Linked DNA regions of Homo sapiens: region 2 is linked to region 1. Evidence: promoter capture Hi-C in 16 types of primary human blood cells and fetal thymus (Javierre and others, 2016). All regions are on one chromosome and are shown on one strand. The core of a region is centred on a gene start or on the middle of the fragment in contact, and the rest is flanking DNA. Distances in the headings are between cores, read along the strand shown.

What was found. Contacts are between HindIII fragments. The CHiCAGO score rates a contact against its expected background, and 5 or more counts as called.
Region 2: a contact is called between a fragment that was not itself captured here and the fragment with the promoter of KIFC3 in region 1, in 1 of 17 cell types (megakaryocytes). The highest score is 5.3, in megakaryocytes.

Annotation. Positions count from the first base shown.
Region 1 is chr16:57,800,543-57,804,293 of GRCh38, forward strand. KIFC3 (kinesin family member C3) reads right to left here and starts at 1,949. Exons shown (of 20, transcript NM_001130100.2): 1 at 1,828-1,949. RefSeq lists enhancers at 892-1,568, 2,246-2,922. The HindIII fragment of the contact is 12,094 bases long and covers 1-3,751 here.
Region 2 is chr16:57,847,715-57,851,697 of GRCh38, forward strand. It overlaps a transcript of KIFC3 not described here. Among named protein-coding and RNA genes, the nearest start is that of KIFC3, 47 kb to the left of the region's middle. The HindIII fragment of the contact is 203 bases long and covers 1,202-1,404 here.

The DNA.
Region 1 (3,751 bases), core at 699-3,198:
GTGCAGGGCATTGGAGGCTGACTCCACAGTGGACAGAGAAGACTTTCAGGGAGATCAGCTCAGCTCAGTCTGAGGGGCAGGGACAGGAGGAGATAGCGTTTCTGCGGTTATCAGGAAGGGAAGTGGAGGAGGCAGCCAGGAAGATATCGGGAAGAAAGAGGAAGGGCGTGTGCTAGATCCCGAAGAGGAAAAAGCAGCTGAATTTAGCAGCCTCAGGGGTGTGAAGGTCAAAAGTATCAAGGAATCTTAAGCCCAGGGTTCTGGGCCAAGAAAGCAGGACTCTCTCTCATTTACATGGGCATCTGAGATGAAACCTGGTGTCCGGGGACTTCTACCAACCTAGGATTCGTGGGGGAGGGCAGTGGGACTGGTTCAGAACCTGGCTCCCCTGTTTACTAGATGTCTGACCTTGGGAGAATTACTTTGCCTCTCCGTACTTCATTATCTCCATCTATAAAATGGGGAGAACACCACCTTATAGGGTTGCTCTAAAGATTAGACAAGGCCAAGTGTTCAGAACAATACTGGCATATACAAAGAGCTCCAAAATTTTATTTTTCAGTTACTTTGCTCCAGTGGTGGGTGAATGCAGAGGGCCTGGCTGGGGAAGAGGGTCTCTGCCTCTCTGGGTTTAGACCAGGACAGCAGAGCTGCAATACTCCCCCTGCCCTAGATCAGGGACATTGCAAAGACTGGGGGGACAGGCTGGACAGCTGCTCAGAGACTGCAGCAAGCAGGGCTTGGTCGCCCTGGGAGAGCAGGCAGAAGGTCAAGGAAGTTGTACAGGGAATGCCACCTCCCTGCACACCATCATCTATCCTGGGCTTTCCAGGGCAACCTAGATTTCAAACCCTCTGCTCCCTGGTGCCCCTGTGAACAGCAGAACTCACCACCCTGTGCCCCTAAAGTCCACTCACTGCAAATGCAGGGCCCCATTCTGAGACTGCATTCCTAGCAAATGACTCTCCCTGGTCAAGGAGACGGCTACTCTAACAAGGGCATGGGGAATACACGTCTGGGAAAGAATGGGTGCTCACCCTGTTCAGGCAGAGGAAAAGCCGGGGAAGGTGAAAGACCAGGGGTGGCCACAACCCGCAATCTTGAGACAGTGTTGGGGTATGGAGGTGGGGGCTGGGTGGCAGTAAATGGTACTCCAGAATTTAATTAAACACAGCTTCCTCTTTAATATCTCCCAGGACCAGGCCCTTCACTGCACCAGCCAGAGTTCTGCTCTAACTAGCAATGCTGGGCTTAAAGGGGTGGTCCTGGGATCGCCCTCCCTGCTGAGACCCTCACAACTGCTGCGGCTGTCAATGGCCCGATTCCTCACTGCCCGGAGGGCACCGGCCAAGGCCCTTCTTCCTAACCTCTGGGCGGGCGCACCCCGCCCCAGGCCCTGCCAGGGAAAAAGCGAACTCCCCAAGGGACGTGGTGGGAGGGACCCAAAGGCAGCCTTCCAGGGAGCCCTGGGGGTGGGGAAGACGCCAGGAAGGGGAGAGGGCGGCGCCGATTGACAAGCCCATCCCGGGTAGGGTCTGCGCTCTTCTCGTTCAATAAAATCCAAACGGGGTCCCGAGGCTGCTCGGATCCCGTGGGACACGCCGCCCCTGTGCCCAGCTCCCAGCAAGGTCCTCGACTCGGGCTGAACGGCGCTGGAGGGGACCTCGCAGGGCTGGGTCTCCCGGGCCTTTCCCTCCCCGCGCCCATAGCGGGTCCGGGCAGAGGGGTCCCGAGGGCAGGGCCGGCCCGGACGCGGCGCCCCAAACGGCGGGCCGGGCAGAGCCCAGCGCCCCGCTCGCACCCAGCCCGCCCGGGCCCCCCACTCACCGGCCTGGCGGAGGCAGGATCCAGGCGTCGCCGCAGCGCCCGGGGCTCGGCCCGGCCCGGCCCGCCGGCAGGAGGCAGCTCCACGCCGCCGCCTCCTCCTCGGCCAGCCCGCTCGCGCCCCTCCCGCACACTTTCCACAGGAAATGATTAACTCGGGCCGCGGCGCGTTCCCATGGCAACCGGCTCCGACCCCGGCGGGGGGCGGCGGCGCGCGCCCGCACTCACGCGCACTGGCGCGCACGCGTCAGCCCGGGCGCGCCCCCGCAGGTCTCCCGCCGGCACTCCCACTCCCACTCCCACTCCTTCGCGGGGCCTCCCACTCGGTCTCTCCCGCCTCCCCGCGTCCCGCACTCGCACTGGCACACGTGCTCATGCGTTCCCTGAAGGCTCTCACAAAACAGGCCTGCACACGGGCTGGCACACACGAGGCAGCCCACACAGCCCCACACCTGGTGAGCCATGCGTACTTTTGCACAGCCTCAAACCCGAGTGCAAAACTTCCACGCGAGTACTCACACATACACTTCTCACGCGGGCTCTCATACCAGTACGTGTCTTCCCATCCCAACACACACACAAGCTCTTACTCACGAGACAATACATGTACATCCCTTACCGTGTCCTTGCACGCGCTGGCGCACATGCACTCACACTGTTTACAGCGCACACGCTCTCACTCGCTCCACCACCTACTCGCTGGCCAGGCCGCCTTCTAGCCACAGCACTTCCTACCTCTGCACCCCCAGCCCCACCCCAGCAAATGAATATCTTCCCAGCAAGGAAGCTGCCTGGAGTCCCTTAAGGTAAAACACACCAATGGTGCAGCAGTTCCCGGCCTTGCTGCAGAAGGCCCTGCTACTGGGGCACCTAGAGCCTCAGAAGAGGCCTGGGGGAGGCCAGGGGCCTGCCAGCCGGGAGAGACAGCTGACCTGGAGGAGCCACTCTGTTCTTTGTCTCCCAAACAGAGGCAGCATTTTATTCCAGAGCCAGCAGCAATATTCTCCCTCACTCTCCACACCCCCGGGTGCGGAAGAGGAGAAAGCAAGTCACTCTGAAGCCAGCCCATGCAGGCTGACGGTTCTGCAGATAATCCCAGGAGGGCGGGTACTCTGTCCCTTCCTGCTTGTCAGGGGATGGCCCAAGAAGATCAAGGAGAGGACTGGAGGGGGTCGGGCAACTCCAGGTGGGTTCTATCTCCTGCTGCCGCCCAGGCGCTGGGCTGCCAGTCAAGAATCTCGACCAGCGACGGAGCCAAGGGCCTGGGCCTCAGATTGTTCTGGACGCCAGAGCAGGACAGTCACAGTCCCCCAGCTGGAAGCAGCCTAGTGCATGCTTTATTTGACAACTGAGATTCCTCAGTGAAGGCCTGATAGAGGGTGAATGTAACGCTCCTGGAATCATTCCCTAGAGAGTTAGATTTCCAGCTGAACACCACACTGGAGAACCCTTCCAATGGGAGAGAAAGCCTTATTTGGGGAGTTATGATCTCTGAATTCCTCTGCCTGCCCTCCAAACAGCAGTGATCCAGGGGACCGCAAGGGTGGATGAAGGCAAAATGTCTCTAGAATTCTGATTTAGTATCTATCTCCCTTGATTATAGTCCCTATGAGTTGATGGGGCGGGGGATGGGGAGGACAGAATGTCTTTAAAGTCCTGGTTCAAAACTGGAGACTTTTTCTTACTCAGGGATTGAGTACATTGACATTAACTGTAGGTCCTTCCCACCAAAGCCAAAGCCAGATTTTTAAATTAATAATAACATTTATTGTTCTTTTGCTTTGATTACAAAAGTAATAGATGTTCATTGTAACCATATCCCACACACTGGAGATAAATGCTGCCAACACTTTAGAAGTCTTTTTTTTTCCTGTGTACATAATAGATGCCATTATTGAAGCTAACACTGTGTCAGGCACAGCACTAA
Region 2 (3,983 bases), core at 53-2,552, 47 kb after region 1:
TGTTCAAGAATATATTTTTAGATTAAGTCCAGATGCCAGATGAATTTGTGTGTGTGTGTGTGTGTGTGTGTGTGTGTGTGTGTGTGTGTGAGACCGAGTCTCACTCTGTTGCCCAGGCTGGAATGCAGTGGCACAATCTCAGCTCGCTGCAACCTCTGCCTCCGAGATTCAAGCAATTCTTGTGCCTCAGCCTCCCAAGTAGCTGGGGACACAGGCGCACCCCACCACATCTGGCTAATTTTTGTATTTTTGATAGAGATGGGGTTTCACCATGTTGGCCAGGTGTGTCTTGAAATCCTGACCTCAAGTGATCCACCTGCCGCAGCCTTCTAAAGTACTGGCATTACAGGCGTGGGCCACCATGCTTGGCCTGGATGCCAGAAGAGTTATTTGCAAAACAATTTTTAAATACTTTTAAATACTTTGTAAAGAAGCCAAAGTTTTATTGTTGTTATTTTCTGTCTAATGCCTTGAAGTTGCCATACATTTTGGAGATTCTATTAAAGCTATAAGCTCGTTTTGTTCAGATGAACATTCATTTGTTTTTATGATCAAGCAAACAGAGAGTGGTTTAACTGGCTTAAGAAGGACCACACAGAAAGCCGAAATTCAGGACCAGCATTGAGATGCCAGCATGGAGGCCCCGTGTGGTGGCTCATCCCAGAACTTTGGGAGGCCGAGGCAGGAGGATTGCTTGAGGTCAGGAGTTCCAGACCAGCCTGCACAGCATAGCCAGATCCCATCTCTACAAAAAATTCTAAAAATTAGCTGGGCGTTGTGGTGCATGCCTGTAGTCCTAGCTATTGGGAAGGCTGAATCCAGAGGATCCCTTGAGCCCATGAATTTGAGGCTGCAGTGAGCTGTGACTGAGCCACTGCCACTCCAGCCTGATAGACAGAATAAGACCTGTCTCAAAAAATTAAAATTAAAAGACGCCCATATGAAGCTAATCTCCGATTCTGTGTGCAGACTGCTAAAATGTCTCTCTTGCTAAAAGGAAGCCCTAAGAATGGCTACACAGGGTTTTTAACAAAAAGATTTAGCATGTCTTAGGACTTAATGCATGTGCCACCTTCAGGCAGCCATAACAAAAAACTAGAGGTTTTCTCTAAATAAATACATAAAAATAAGGAATTTAGATTCTCTGGCAACTGTGACCTTAAACTTTGTTTTCAAGGTGAAAAATATTCACATAAAATTAAGCTTTATGAGAACATTTCTATGATGATTTAATTTCTTCTCTCTTCCCCGGTTCCACTTAAACACTAATCCTAGAATCCTAAAACTGTTCTTCCTGTAGATGTCATGGTAAGTACCACACTTTTTCTGTGCTTTTCCATAAGCAGAGAACAATAGTAGCTGAGTGATCAGACAGTACAGAGATTAACAGAGGAGTTAGTAATAAGCTTTAGAGGTTTATATCTGTGGCTCTACTCGTCTAAATTTAAGCCTTTTTGGGGACAGAAACCCAGTTAACCAATTTAAGGCAACTACCATCACAGTTTCTTGATAATTGGTGATCTCAGTAGAAAGGGTACGTTGTAAATAAACAAAGCAATGAAACCCAGATTTCATTCATCAATGTATCCCCTACAGACCAGTTTAATGGAGATAAATTACCTTGTAGATAATGACAATGCAAACTTAACACACATCAGATCGATTGAGACAAACTGCTGTGTGTGTGTATCTGTGACGGCCTTTACTTTGTTATTACTGATTTAATTATTTTAAAACCCTTATTAAGTGCTCTGTGGGTTCATAGTGGCACTTCTCTAAAAATCTGAAAGTCAATATAGTCTTTTAAACTACAGAGTTGGTGCCCTTTGTCTTATGAAGGGAAGGAGAACGTAAACTCACTGCCTCTAGAAGATAGGGGTAGAGGTGTTTAGAAAATAGTTAATGGGGCCAGGTGTGGTGGCTGATGCCTGTAATTCCAGCACTTTGGGAGGCCGAGGCAGGCAGATCATCTGAGGTCTGGAGTTCAAGACCAGCCTGGCCAGCATGATAAAACCCCATCTCTACTAAAAATACAAAAATTAGCCGGGTGTGGTGGTGTGTGCCTGTAATCCCAGCTACTTGGGAGGCTGAGGCAGGAGAATCACTTGCACCTGGAATGTGGAGGTTGCAGTGAGCCGAGATCATGCCACTGCACTCCAGCCTGGGCAACAAGAGCAAAACTCCATCTCAACAACAACAAAAAATAGTTAATGGGCCGGGTGCAGAGGCTTCCACCTGTAATCCTAGTAATTTGGGAGGCTTGAGGGGAATCAGCCTCGAAAAGTAGGGGAATCACTTGAGGCCAGGAGTTTGAGGCTGTAGTGAGCTATAATCGTGCCATTACACTTCAGCCTGGGTGACAGAGCAAGACCCTTTCTCTAAAAAATAAATAGTAATAATAAAAGCCAGGTGTGGTGGCTCATGCCTATAATCTTAACACCTTGAGAGACTGAGGCGGGAGAATTGCTTGAGCCCAGAAGTTCCAGACCACCAGCCTGGGCAACATAGCGAGACCCTGTCTCTACAAAAAATTGAAAAATTAGCCGGGCATGGTGGCATGCACCTGTAGTCCCAGCTATTCAGGAGGCTGAGACAGGAGGATTGCTTGAGCCCAGGAATTTGAGGCTGCAGTGAGCCATGATTGAGCCACTGGACTCCAGCCTGGGGGAGAGAGTGAGACCCTGTCACACACAAACAAAATAATATAATACAATAATAATAATAATAAATAAAAATAAATTTTAAAAAGGGTTTTTTTTTTTTTTTTTTTTTTTTGAGATGGAGTCTCACTCACTCTTTTGCCCAGGCTGGAATGAAGTGGCCCTATCTCAGCTCACTAAAACCTCCATCCACCAGGTTCAAGCGATTCTCCTGCCTCAGCCTCCCAAATAGCTGGGATTACAGGCGCCTGCCACCATGCCCGGCTAATTTTTGTATTTTTAGTACAGATGGGGTCTTGCCATGTTGGCCAGGCTGGTCTCGAACTCCCGACCTCAGGTGACCCACCCGCCTCGGCCTCCCAAAGTGCTAGTATTACAGGAGTGAGCCGCTGTGCCCAGCCACAAAAATGGGTCTTTTTCATACATTGTACGGAGTTCTCCGCAGGCCCTTCCAGTGCTTCAGCTGTGGGAAGTTTTCCTGTGTTATTTCATTGATATTCTCTGCCCTTTCTTTGTTCTCTCTGGAATTCTTTGAAATTGCTGATTTGATTTCAACTTCTTTCCTTCCCTCCCTCCTTCCTTCCTTCCTTCCTTCCTTCCTTCCTTCCTTCCTTCCTTCCTTCCCTCCCTCCCTCCTTTCCTTCCTTCCTTTTCTTGACACGATCTTGCTTTGTTGCCCAGACTGGAGTGTAGTTGTGTGATCACCGCTCACTGCAGCCTCAAGCTCCTAGGCTCCAGGCATCCTCCCACCTCAGCCTCCTGAGTAGCCAGGATTACAGGAGTGTGTCACCACACCCGGCTAATGTTTTTTTAATGTTTTGTAGAGACGGGGGTCTCATTATGTTGCCCAGGCTGGTCTCAAACTCCTGGTCTCAAGTGATCCTCCTGCCTTGGCCTTCCAAAGTGTTAGGATGACCAGTGTGAGCCACCATGCATGGCCTATTATTTTTCATCTCTCTCTGTTTGTTCTAGTTCCTGGAAAATTTCCTCAACTTCATCTTCCAATCCACTTACTGATTTTTCCCCTCATATTAAAAACACATAGATTTTTCTTGTGTTTATTTTATTTTATTTTTCCTTATCCCTGGTAATATCTGGAGATTGTCTTGGTTTTGAATATTCATTTATTCAATAGCATTTCAAGAGTGTAATTGCCTCTTGTCTCTGGAACTATTATAATATTCGTTCGTTCATTCTTTTTTTTTTTTTTGAGGCAGAGTCTCGCTCTGTTGCCAAGGCTGGAGTGCAGTGGCACAATCCCGACTCACTGCAACCTCCGCCTTCCAGGTTCAAGTGATTCTCCTGCCTCAGCCTCCTGAGTAG